Regions from separate parts of the Homo sapiens genome. Here region 2 is linked to region 1. The links are contacts of gene promoters, found by promoter capture Hi-C in blood cells and fetal thymus (Javierre and others, 2016). All regions are on one chromosome and are shown on one strand. The core of a region is centred on a gene start or on the middle of the fragment in contact, and the rest is flanking DNA. Distances in the headings are between cores, read along the strand shown.

Region 1 (6,607 bases), core at 1,309-3,808:
TTTATCTTACAAAAGGATTCTTAGCTTTAAGGATGTAATTGACAATAAGATTATAGTGAGCTAAACTGGTACATTTTAAATGATTTTGCTTACCAAAGTAAAATGTACATATAACTTTTAAGAAGCATGCCTATTACTTAAGGTCAGGTGAAATTCCAAATGGGCAGATGATACTTCCACACATACAACTGTGTTGGCATCTAGTGGCTGGGCTGACATTTCATTCAACTTATTCAATAAACAATTATTGATCAAATAGCTAAATTATCAGGTACTATTCTAAACACCAAAGGTATACAGAATAAGATTTCATTCCTATCCTCTAGTTGTCCTCAGCATGAAGTTATAGTGTGGCTACAAGTAAAAAATAGAATTTTGTGAAATGTCTTCAAAAGTAATGAACTTTTTTCTTTTTTTTGAGACAGGGTCTTGCTCTGTCACCCAGGCTGGAGTGCAGTGCAGTGGTGTAATCACAGTTCACCGCGGCCTCGGCCTCCCAGGCTCAGGTGATCCTCTTACCTCAGACTTCCGAGTAGCCAGGACTACAGGCACATGCCACCACACCCAGCTACTTTTTTGAACCTTTTGTAGAGACGCGGTTTCACCATGTCACCCCAGCTGGTCTCAAACTCCTATGCTCAAGCGATCCATGTGCCTTGGCCTCCCAAAGTACTGGGATTACAGGCGTGAGCCACTGTGCCCAGCCTGAACTTTCAAATGGAAAAAAAATTGAAAGCAAATTTCTGCACGTTTCTATATTCTACACATGCAGCCATAAGCATAGGTGTAACCCTGATGGCATGTTTGTACTAGCTCTGGTGTAAGAATCTCTTCCTGATTTCTGAAGTTGAAGTTTTGTTTGTTGAGTATTTGTGAACCCTTTAAAGAACCAGATTTTATTTTACCTTGGCCTCCTCATCATCAAAATAGTACAAATTGCTACATTAAACACTGTATTCTCAGACTTCAAAGGGCATTAACTACCATTATGTATATCTCCATCTTACCCATGAGAGGGCAGTAGAATACATACATGTGAATTCATTTATTAATCTATAAATTTGGTTTCATACGTGATACTTGGAATTCAACCTGCCTTATTTTGCCAAATAATCTTCCTGAATGCAGGGGTCAAAAAATACATTTCTGGGCTGGGTGCAGTGGCTCATGTCTGTAATCCCAGCACTTTGGGAGGCTGAGGCAGGAGGACTGCTTGAGCTCGGGAGTTGGAGACCAGCCTGGGCAACATAGCGAGACCCTGTCTCTACAAAAAAATAAAAATAAAAATATTAGCCGGGGGTGGTGGTGCATGCTTATAATACTAGCTGCTTGGGAGGCCGAGGTGGGACGATTCTTTGAGCCTAGGAAGTTGAGACTTCAAGTGAGCTATGATTGGGCCACCGCACTCCAGTGTGAGTGACACAAAGAGACCCTGTCTCAATAAATAAATAGATAGACACATTATATAAGAATTTTTTTTTTTTTGGTGGGGGAAGCCCATAATGATCAGTGTGCAAAATTTACTACAAACAATATCCACATTTATTTCCTCATTGGGACATGATTTTTTTTAAGTATGTCATTACTTTTTTTTCCCCCATCATAGAATGTAATTTCTGTTTTACTGTCTACAGGTGATAGTTTCACAACGGTTTGGGATATGCTACCTTTATTGTTTGGGTTAAGTTTGCTTGTGACAGTCATCCGTGATACGTAACTAAACACCTCTCTTTCTGGTAGTCTTCTATTTTGGTACCTCTGTGTGAACAAATGTAGGAAGAGTTTGGTCACCAGACCCAAGAGGCTCTGGCTGGGTGGGGTGGGGTGGGGTGGGGCGGGGCGAGGCGGGGTGGGGTGGTTAGCGAGTGCCTGGGAAACAGGCTCAACTGATCCTTGTCCCGCAGCCTCGGTGAAACTGGGTTACAGCTTGCAGTAGGCACAACACCACGCACATACCTAAGCAAGAGCGTGTTGCAGGCGGAGCGCTTAGGCATGTGTGTCTCAACAGGGCGTGGGGGCTGACCTCACGCACTGGGAGTATCAAGGCACCCCCGTTCTGAGATTCCAAGCCTGAGGTGCCGCGAGAGTTATTTGCTTCTCTTGACGTTTCAAGTTGGCACCGTAGTGCAATTGTTTGCTCACTGAGGTCAGCCTAGGAAACAGTGCTTGGATTCCCTGATTAAGCCAGGCTTTATCTTGTTGAGTAGTTGTGAAGAGTAAACCTTCACATGAAGCATAGGGCCGTCTCCGTGGGGCCGATGCGACGGCAGGCGAAGGCGATGGAGCTCTGGCTCGAGGGCTTGGCCGGACGACGGTGACACTGGTCGCCCGCCTGCTGGAACTGCAGTGACCGAGGTCCTGGCAAGGTTCTGGCCATACAGCGGACTTGAGGCGTGGTGGTTCCCCTCACCGCCGGCCGGGGCGGTGTCGGAGGCGGGCATAGCGTGAGGGGTGGGAATAGGAGCCAATAAGAACTGAGCCTTGCCAGGGAGGGCGGGGCTAGGGGGTGGGGCTGCAGCCGGGACGGGGCCTTCGGCAGGGCCTGCGGGGGCGGGACGGAGCGGACCCGAGTGATACCCGGGAGACTAGCTTGGCCACAGGAGACAACGTTGAGGTACAGACAGGTAAGAGTCGGGGTGATTCGGCGCGGGGTTTTAAGCCGCAGGGGCTTCGGACTCTCGGGGCTGTCGGCATCACCCTTCTGGGCGTCGGGTGCGGGGCTGTGGCGCCGCGGCGTAGTCCTCGGACGGTGCGAGCCGAGCTGGCGGAGGTGGTGTCTCCGCGCCCCGCTGTCTCGGCACCTCCTCCGTCCGGAGGAGCAACCGGTTGTTGGGCCCAGCTTTGGGACGTCCTCTCGTGGCCGCACGGGTTGTGGCGGAGCCTGGCTGAAGACCTCCTCGCTACCTCAGGGGCTTGGGGACCCCTAGGCTGGGCGCCGCTCTCTGCTGGGGAAGAGGGAGGGAGCGCCCGGCAGCCTGGGGAAACGCGGGCTTTCTCCAAAATTAGCCAGTGAGCTTGAACTTCGACATGCTGGGACGATGCACTTCCAAACAATATTTTGCTTTTTTTGGTGTTTTGATTCTTAACAGCATCTAATACGCACAATACCGAAAGTTGTCAAGTAGAATTTTAATTTAAAAGTCTGACAGTGGAACACCTAAGAGCTTTTGAGTAACTAGAGCTGTATAGCAGCTGATGATTAGATTATGAGTCAAAAGGCTCAAGTCTAGGGCCAGAACCCGCGGAACCAGATGTGATACCTCGGCCAAATTAACTTCCTGGGCCTCTCTTTCCGTAACTGTGAAACTGGCAAGTTCATGCCTATGGGTATTCTCAGGGTCAAATCAGATGAGTGACAGTATTCTACAAATGTCAGATATTTGAACGTGCGTGTGGAGCGTGTATATTCTGTGAAGCAACTACTACTTGCCTGGTACATAGTAGGCACTTTACAAACGTTTACCCTAAAGCTAGTGATTCTTCTGCAGTGTTTTAGATAAAGTGATAGATCCTTGCTTACTGTGTAAATAAGTTGTTTAAACTTTTCCCACAAAGTGACCCCCATTGTTTGAGTGTGTCCTATTTTTAAATGATTGATGAAATTTTCTAGAATAGCACAGTGGTGTTATCTATACACTGTTGCTGAATCATTTACCGCGAAGTCTGTAGCAATCAAATAATCTACTTCTTTGTCTTAGCTAAATAGTTGTAGTTTAAGATACCTGCTAAAGTAAGCTGGGAATATTGTTCCAAATCAAGACTTTAATTTGTTTTTGTGAATTGACGGGCTGCTTATAGGAAGATTTAAATCTTCCAAAATATTGTTAATATATAGCCATATTTTTTCATACAGCCTTTATTATAGACGTTTTTGTTCTTTACTATGGATATGTGTGCGAGGGATTTTAGCGGGGAGATGGGAAATAAAAAAGAAAATGGCAGTTTTGTAACCTGTAGGCTTTTGCTGGGGATACTTGTAGGCCTGTTCTGAGTTTGCCAGGCAGAAACCAGGAAATGTAGTAATTATGTGTCTTGGTCTTTCATTAGTTGGGGTGTGTGTGTGTGTGTGTGTGTGTGTGTGTGTGTTGAATGTGGCAGTACGTTTTTTAAATGCAGCAATAAAGGAAGAATATTTATTTTTCTTAATGACAATAAGCAGTTTTCTAAAGCTGGAAATTATATTACTTTTAAATGGTCTGTAGTGAGTCTTAAGTTATAGGCAAGAATTTTAGACCACTGGATACCAAGATCAAATTAAATGAAGTAGTAGAGGGAAAGTTACTAGTGAATGTAATTTTTGTGTGTGTTGCTTTAGAAGTTTTACTTAAACATGTTTCAGCAATTCAGTGGAGGATGGGTCTTTTGAAGCTACTTTAAAACATGAGTTTTAAACGTACTCCATGTATAAATTTTTCTGTGATTTACAATTTCTTGATCTTGGAGGTCTGAAACCTTACATTCACATTGTTTTTTGAGGGCCTACTACACAATAGGCACAAGATTATATTTATGTAAGAGCAGTATGTAATTCCTGTCATCTAGGAGATTCCATTCTACCAAGTGGGCTAAAATAAGTACTGAAAAAACAAAAGCTGTTTTTAAAGCGGATGGTAACAATAACAACATCAGCTATCATTCATTGGTACCTAGTCTGTGCCAGGCAGTATTCTAAATTCTTTACATGTATTAGCTTACTTAATCCTCACAACAGCACCATGAGGGATGTTATTATGATTATCTCATTAAGAGGCATAGAGAGGTTGAGTAACTTGCCCATGATTAGACAACCTAGATAGCAAAAGTAGGATTCAAATCAGTCATTCTCCAAGGACCTGATTGTAACCTTTGCGCTATACTGAGTTTCAAATTCTGTGAGTGAGATACAAATGACATCTAATAGGTATTTTAAAAAGAGGTCTATAAAAAACTATTTCAAAAAGAAGGAAAGAAAGAGGAAAAAATAAACTGGTATTGCAATACCAGTTTTATTGCAATTAAAACGATGTAATTATAGTTTATCTGTGGGAACCCTTTTTTTGTTATTGTTGCCAGTGAATGACATGGGGATGATTCTAAGCTCTCAGTCCCTCAGTAACAACAGTTATGGCATTATCTTAACAATATGAGGTGCTTATTTTTCATTAAAAAGCACCTCATAACTTCTTTCATTAAGAAGTTAAAAATATCTGTTCTCAGACTGTAAATTAAGTATTAGATTCAAGAAGAGAAAATGCTTCCCTGTCTTTAAGAAGCTTATAACCCAACATGTAAATAAGGCTCTACAATTTCAGCATGATAAGAGCTGTAAAGAAGTATAGATTTAGGTACGTTTGAAGAGTTGCAAGAAAAAGAAAGAAGTATAGATAGAATTTAACCACTGATGAGGAAAAATCATTCTGCGTGTGGTAGGGAGGACGATTAGAGAGAAGATATTAAATTTGGCTTTGAAGGATGAATAGGAGTTTGCTGAAATTGGGTCAGGAAACAGGAGATATGAATGAAAACCAGGGATAAGTGTGCAAGTATATGGTATGTTTGAGGAATGTGTTGTAGTCCATTGTACTGAAGGCCAGGGTGTGTAGAAATGGGTGGTTTGGCTAAAGGAGATGGTGCCTGGAAATAAGATGAAAAAATAAAATTGCAAAGCTTCCTTGCTGATTGCATTAGGATCACTAAAATTGCTAGGTAATGTGGTATTTCACTTCCCTTCATTTGGAACAATGAAATGAGTAATTAGTTCAGTTTGGCAGAATGTTTCACTAAAAAATATGGTGTTAAAGGTACTTTTAATACTTTGAAGTACAAGATATAAGATAACATTACAGACTTAGGTAAGTAAAAAGTTAAGATTTAGGGCCAGGCGTGGTGGCTCATGCCTGTAATCCCAGCACTCTGGGAGGCCAAGGCAGGTGGATCAAGAGGTCAGGAGATCGGGAGCATCCTGGTCAACATGGCGAAACCCCATCTCTACTAAAATACAAAAATTATACGGGTGTGGTGGCGTGTGCCTGTAATCCCAGCTACTTGGGAGGCTGAGGCAGGAGAATCATTTGAACCAGGGAGTCAGAGGTTGCGGTGAGCTGAGGTCGTGCACCTGCACTCCAGCCTGGCAACAGAGTGAGACTGTCTTTAAAAAAAAAAGTTATGATTCAGAAAAAGAGGGAAAAAAGTCTTCTGATGCTAGGTCTTGAAGAGCCAGAGTATCGTGCTAAGGACTTTGGACTTGATTCTAAAGACAATGGAGAGCCAGTGAAGGATTTTAGATATAGGTGTTTAGGAAAGATAAGCTGAAAATGGTTTGGAGGCTGAATTGGATGAAGAGAGACAAAAGGTAGGGAGATAAGTTAGGAGGCTGTTGCTATTGAAATAGTCCAGATAAGGGAGGATAGGGGCCTGGAGTAGGAAAATAGTAATAGGGATGGAGAGGAGAGGATAGATAGTGAAGGTGTAGAATTTGACAGGGCTTTAAAATCAATTGGCTCAAAAGAGGAACAGAAAAGTAAATGACTTAGTTTTTTAGCTTGGAAAACTGTTTGGATGAAGGGTCTTGTTTTATTTTTTAATATTGGAGGAAGATAATTGTTTCCATTTTGAATTCATGTTGAGT
Region 2 (6,607 bases), core at 1,637-4,136, 200 kb after region 1:
AATGTGAGCTTGACAACCATTCAATTTTTTATAAAATAACATGTTTTCCATTTTTGTTTTACCTTTTGTTTGTGGCTACTATCCTGCATAAATTGCATAATTTGTTTTGACAATTTGTGGACTGTGTCCTTCATTGTTGTACAGTATTCCCACTATTCCTATTTAATGCTTTTTTAACTTTTACTTAGGTTTATCTAATGCTAATATTCTTCCTGTTTGTTTTTGTTTTACCTTTTTGTTTTGTTTTGTTTTTTGCAGTTGCTGCTGTATGTTTGTTTATCCTTTTCTTTTTCAATAGGTATGTCTTGAAGTTTCATTAGTAGCAGACTACTAATTTGCTTCTCAGGATTGCCATTTTTCAGGTCTTCTAATTTTTTAATATGGAAATTGTGTTTATTTAAATTTAGCAGGGCACTTCTTTTTTTTTTTTTTTGAGACAGAATCTTGCTTGCTCTGTCGCCAGGCTGGAGTGCAGTGGCATGATCTTGGCTCACTGCAGTCTCCGCCTCCTGGGTTCAAGCAGTTCTCCTGCCTCAGCCTCCCGAGTAGCTGGGACTAGAGGTGCACGCCACCACACCCAGCTAACTTTTGTATTTTTAGTAGAGTTTGACCATATTGGCCAGGATGGTCTTGATCTCTTGACTTCGCCATCCGCCCACCTCGGCCTTCCAAATCGCTGGAATTACAGGTGGGAGCCACCATGCCCAGTCTGATTTGCTTTCTTATCATTCATATGCTCACTGGACTGTCACTTTTAATTTCCTTCAAGAACTTTGCAGGCCAGGCGCAGTGGCTCATGTCTGTAGTCCCAACACTTTGAGAGGCCTATGCGGGAGGATTGCTTGGGCCCAGGAGTTCGAGACCAGCCTGGACAACAATATGAGACCCTGTCTTTACAAAAAATCAAAAAATTAGTTGGGCATGGTGGCATGAGCCTGTGGTCCCCACTGCATGGGAGGCTGAGGTAGGAATCACTTGAGCCCAGGAAGTCGAAGCTTCAGCGAGCAGTGTTCATGCCATTGCACTCCAGCCTGGGCCATAGAGCAAGACCCTATCTCAAACAAAACAAAACACAAAACTTTTCCTTTGCATTCACAACTAGGCTAACTGGCGCAAGAGGCCTAGCATTGGCCTGTCTTGGCTTTTGATATGCCTTCTCACTAAGCTTAACAATTTCTAGCTTTTTAAAATTTAATGTAGGAGATGTTTGACTTGTTGTTGTTGTTGTTGTTGTTGTTATTGACCAAGTCATGCTGAATCGATTCTTCTTTTCAGTTGGACACTTTGAGGCCATTGCAGGGTTATTTATTGGCCTAATTTCAATATTGTTTGGTCTCAGGCATTAGGGTGGCCTGAGAAAGGGAGAGAGACAGGGAGTGGCCAGTCAGTGAAGCAGTCAGAATACATTTATTGATTAAGTTTGCTGTTTTCATTGGGCGCAGTTTGTGGGGCCTCAAAACAATTACAGTAGTAACATGAAAGATCAGAACTCACAGGTCACCATAATAGATAAATAATAATTTATAAGTTAGGAATATTGCAAAAATTAACAAAATGTAACAGAAAGACGCACAGTGAGCACACATTGTGGGAAAAATGGCGTCTACTAATTTGGTTAATGCAGGGTTGCCACAAACCTTCAATTTATAAAAGCTCAGCATCTGTGAAGCAGTATAAAGCTAAATGCAGTAAAACAAGATATTCCTGTATAACTTCAAGAATATAAGAAGCCCTAAGAATACCAACAAGCTTTATGATAATAGATATTAGTTATACTTAGTTTATTATAAGATATTAGTGTTCTTCGTATATGATTGTATGTGCACATATGTGGCCATATATGACTATGACTTCACCTTAAGCCAGCTTCATTCTTAAGTGATAAAATTAACTTTGGAAATACTTACTGACATTATCTAAATATATGTTACTCTATGATATTATTTTATAGGATTTAAGCCATTTTTATTATAAATTATTTCAGTTACTTTCTGTATCATATCTCCAAGTTTTCCCTGTATAAAGCAGCATTCTTCTTTATTCTCCCTCTATTGACAGGTCATTTTGTCTCTTTTCTTCATTGCCAAGTTTTTTGTAAGAGTGGGCAACATATTCAGCATTTCACATCTTCAGTTCCCCACGCTCATGCTAATGTCTGTCTGCCGCTACCTCCATTGCTATAAAATTTCTTTAGTAAAGATCAGTGACCTGTTGCTCCAGAACATAATTATTGTTTTTTTGCCATCATTCCTTTTTGGCAAATACATATTGCTTTCTAGGTCTCTATTTTTTAAATTTGATTTTCTTGCTCTGTTATAAGAACTAAATTATCTTACAGATGCCAGTGAACAATTTTGAAAAACACTTCCTTACCCCATATCACATCTCTCTGACAGAGAGAGAAGAGGCCATGATTATGTCAACAGTTTGAACAGCGGCATCTTGCAAGAATTTCAGACCAACTGACCACTCATCAAAGAACTTGGCAGCTTTTTAATCTTGTTTTTTTAATACAACAGTATATCCATTCTGATGACAAACCTGTCCCGCCAAATCTCCACAACACACGTTGTAAAATCAGTGATTAGCAAATTAGTCAGCTTTGGCACGGAGCTGTGCTTGCTTGCCCATGACAGTCTGGAAACTGGTTTTGTACTTGCAACAGATTATCAACAATAAGTTGCTCACTGTAAGAAGTAGAGTTGAGTCTCTTCTGCAGGTGTGTGTCCAGTGATCAGCATGTGTGAAAAGTATTCCTTAATATATCTTCTGAAGACTTTTTCTGTTTCTGTTGGAATCTTCTTTGATTACAAATTGGTTATTACCATCTATAGAACCACTTGTACCCAGTTCAGCCAACAAAAATGCAAGATGTTTGGGCTGATGATGTAATAGTTTACAAATATCTGTAAAGTTGACAAAATAAGTTTTCTTGGTTCCTACTCAAATGACCTGTAGAGGTTTGATGACAGATTTCCTTTTCAGCAACCACATCTGGATTCTTTTCCCTCGTGATGTTGCACACTCGCTTCAGTAGCTCCTTATGTGTATTTGAGACTGCCCTAGCAGGGCCTGTATGATTATTGAATGAGATACTGTCATCTTTTTTGCTGTCTTCATCTTCTAGAACTTTGTCTTTCTCTAGTATTTCATCCTCATCTGGGAACTTGACATTCTTCTTTTTCTTCTTTTTATTGCCAAGCATAATATTAAGGTCATACTCTGGTTCAGCTGGTTCTTGAATATTTTTTCAATCTTAAGATCCTTTACACCTTCTTCAGCTTCATCAGTATCAAACATCTTTTTTGTTTTTTTCTTTTCTTTTCTTTTGATTAAAGAAGTTCAAGTCATCTAGATCATCAGAAGCACCTTTTTCCCTACTGTTCTCTTCATCAGCTTCCAATTCTTTGTCCCCAGTTGGCTCTGGCGCCACTTGTTTTGTTTCTAAGGGCTGGGTCTCCTCTGTTTGGGTATCCCCTTCCTCCTCTAACTAAAGGACTGCTGCTGCTGATTTTACTTCTTGGTCATAGTAGGATCAAAAATCATCTCATCCCCAGACATGGCTGCAGCTCGAATGGGCTAGGCACAGACAGGAAGTCAGACAAATCAGCCCTAGCCCCCAGCAGCAGCGCTGCTCCTGCTGTTACCTCTCACACCACTGCACTCTCTAGCCCCTTATTAATGTGTGCACATAGGGTGGGAATAGAGATGAATAAGAGATAGGTGCATGGTGGAGAGAGGAACTAGACTTAGGCATGGTTATACTTCTCCAGTTTGAGGTTTCTGGCACGACTTGACAATCTTTTTCCATCCAGCTTCTTTTTCCTATTCTTTGGATAATTCATTCCAGTCTTTCAACACTTAACTCACAGGACTCTCTTATCATTTGGACTGGGCTCTGACTTAAGTAATTAGAGGCTGTAGGTATAAATTCTCTCAACTCCCCTCTCTATCTGAAAATATATCTGTAATTTTTCATTATTTTCTAAGGGAAAGGAGAGTGGTGTTGATGACCAAAGCTTTGGTGTGACTGCTTGAGAATATTGGAAAGAGAAGCTAGGGCTAAATGAAAAGATTGTTAGGTCATGCTAAGAGTCAGCTGACTTTAAGCGCATTATGTAATTTTAAAAGTAAATTGGTACAGTGGTAACAAGTTAATCATAAATGGTTAATGGAAAAGTAGTTGATCCTTGTTTGACTTGTGTTTGTTTCAGTTACACAGACAGGTATGTATTTGTGTCCTGGCCTTTGATGTAAAGTGTACTTCCTGTGGTTTGCAGTTGAAAATGTTTGAAAGCTGTCTCCTAAATTTGAGAGCTCTGTTTCTTCTGCTTGACTTGTAAATATTGGTGTAACAAGGGTTATTGTCCTTGATAATATTCTTCCTCAGCAGTCATAACTACATTTCACATTTGAGTTATTTACATGCTGGTAGCTCCCTCCACACCCTTCAGCTCCAGAAATATGCTAGTTAAACACCATCTATCCAAAACTTACTCATTACATTTCTGGCTAAAACACTTTTTCCTCATTTTGAGTAGTTATGTAATTATCTATGCATTACCCACACCAGGAACTTGGGAATCATCTAGAATTTCTAATTTGTTTCCTCATTGTAACTCTTAGTACTCCTTCATCATACAGTCATTTATTAAGTCCAATTGATACTCTGATTTATCCTCTACATTTCCTTTAATACTGCCTTAGTTTAGTCTCTTTTGTTACTGATAGACCAGCGTTTTAATTAGAGAAATAGTTTAGCATAGTTCTTAAGAGCATGAGCTGTAGACACAGACATGTTAGTTGAATTCAGATCTTGGCATTTACGTCACCACATGACCTTCAGAATGTTTCTTAATCTCTCCGAACCTCAATTTTTTCACCTTTAATGTGGGGATAGTAATAGAACCTACTTTACAGGGCTGCTATGAGGACTAAATACACTTATACATATAAACTTCTTGAAGAGTTAACTGATCTGGCGGGGTGCGGTGGCTCACGCCTGTAATCCGAGCAGTTTGGGAGGCCAAGGCGAGCAGATCGGTCACCTGAGGTCAGGAGTTCGACGCCAGCCTGACTAACATGGAGAAACCCTAATTTAGTTGAAAGATACAGATTAAAATCAGCAAAGAGAAAAGGTGCATGGTGCAAAGCCCAAGAGAAAGCAGACCCATGCTTTCAGATGTCCCCAGCAACAATGTGGGACAATACACTGGGAGTATTGCCAAGTAGGGAATCTCACCTGAGCCTTGGTGTCTAAGTTTTGGAGATCAGTCTCATTGCCACGCAGCCCCCACAGGACTGGTAATCAGCTACTTGGACACCAGTGCACCCAGAGGTCAAACACGGTATGGCTTAAAGCCTCAGGTATACAAAAGTACTCTTACCAGGCAGAATTTTCCACGGGCTCAGAGGTCATCTCCCAGGAACGTGTAAAGGGCCAGTCCTGAAGATAGGCCTTTCTTAAGAAGGAATGTGCAGCATTTGAGCAACCCAGGCCTGCCAAATAAACCCTTTCTTGCACACTAGTATAGTCACGTTCATTCTTCAAGACCCTATTAGAAGTGTTATCTTTTTGGTGAAAATTTAACTGATTTACTCTAAGAAGAGTTAGTTGCTCTCATATCTTTGTCTCTACAGTTACTTATACTTATCTTCTTTGTAGTTTTATATAATACACTTTCTCAAGAGGTTTTTAAGTCATGCTTTCCCAAATGTGAAAATATTTTTCCTTTTCCCCTTTCTCTTCACTTTACTATTTCTCCCTTTGGTTTGAAAAATTGTTTTTGTGTGTTTCCTTTTACCAAGATCTTTTTATTTATTTATTTTTTTTTTTGAGACCGAGTCTCTCTGTCGCCCAAGCTGGAGTGCAGTGGCGCGATCTCAGCTCACTGCAACCCCCACCTCCCGGGTTCAAGCGATTCTCCTATCTCGCCCTCCTGAGTAGCTGGGAATACAGGCGCGTGCCACCACACCCGGCTGACTTTTTTTTAATTTTTAGTAGAGACGGGGTTTCACCATGTTAGCCAGGATAGTCTCCATCTCCTGACCTCGTGATCCGCCCGCCTCGGCCTCCCAAAGTGCTGGGATTACAGGCGTGAGCCACCGCGCCCGGCTCTTTTTATTTATTTTTATACCATGTTTTTGGTAAAATAAAGAGGAAATATTAATAAGAACAGTATTTTGTTTTAAATATATAACAGTAGTTATTTTTTAATTTTAATTATTTTATTTTAAAATTAGAGATGGCGTCTCACTATGTTGTCCAGGCTGGCCTCAAACTCCTGGGCTCAAGTGATCATTCCACTCCCAAAGTGTTGGGATTACAGGCATGAGCCACCTCACCCTTCTTTTAGAGTGATAAGTTTTATTTATGTTTTCATTTTCCATCAGAATGACTATATATGGTACTACAGTTTGTGTACTACACAACTCATGGGGACTTGGTTTATATCCCAGTCTTTGGTGCTTTCTGTAATTGTGTACATTATAAACTATAAAAATTACATACTAATCTAGAATCCTTCTTGAAGGTGTGGATTGTGTCATTTATGCTGTATCCTCTATTTCATGGCTGACATGTAGTCAGTTTGTTGTGTTGACTCTG

What was found. The method cuts DNA at HindIII sites, captures the fragments that hold promoters and counts their contacts. A CHiCAGO score of 5 or more calls a contact.
Region 2: a contact is called between a fragment that was not itself captured here and the fragment with the promoter of DENND2C in region 1, in 1 of 17 cell types (total B cells). The highest score is 5.5, in total B cells.

Annotation. Positions count from the first base shown.
Region 1 is chr1:114,666,000-114,672,606 of GRCh38, reverse strand. DENND2C (DENN domain containing 2C) reads left to right here and starts at 2,558. Exons shown (of 21, transcript NM_001256404.2): 1 at 2,558-2,624. LOC124904354 (a long non-coding RNA gene) reads right to left here and starts at 2,196. Exons shown (of 2, transcript XR_007066465.1): 1 at 1,957-2,196; 2 at 1,653-1,758. RefSeq lists an enhancer at 2,185-2,344 and a silencer at 2,465-2,554. The HindIII fragment of the contact is 6,814 bases long and covers 1-5,254 here.
Region 2 is chr1:114,465,270-114,471,876 of GRCh38, reverse strand. All of the region lies in intron 1 of TRIM33 (tripartite motif containing 33), which reads left to right. It also overlaps the pseudogene EIF2S2P5. Among named protein-coding and RNA genes, the nearest start is that of TRIM33, 43 kb to the left of the region's middle. The HindIII fragment of the contact is 2,270 bases long and covers 1,752-4,021 here.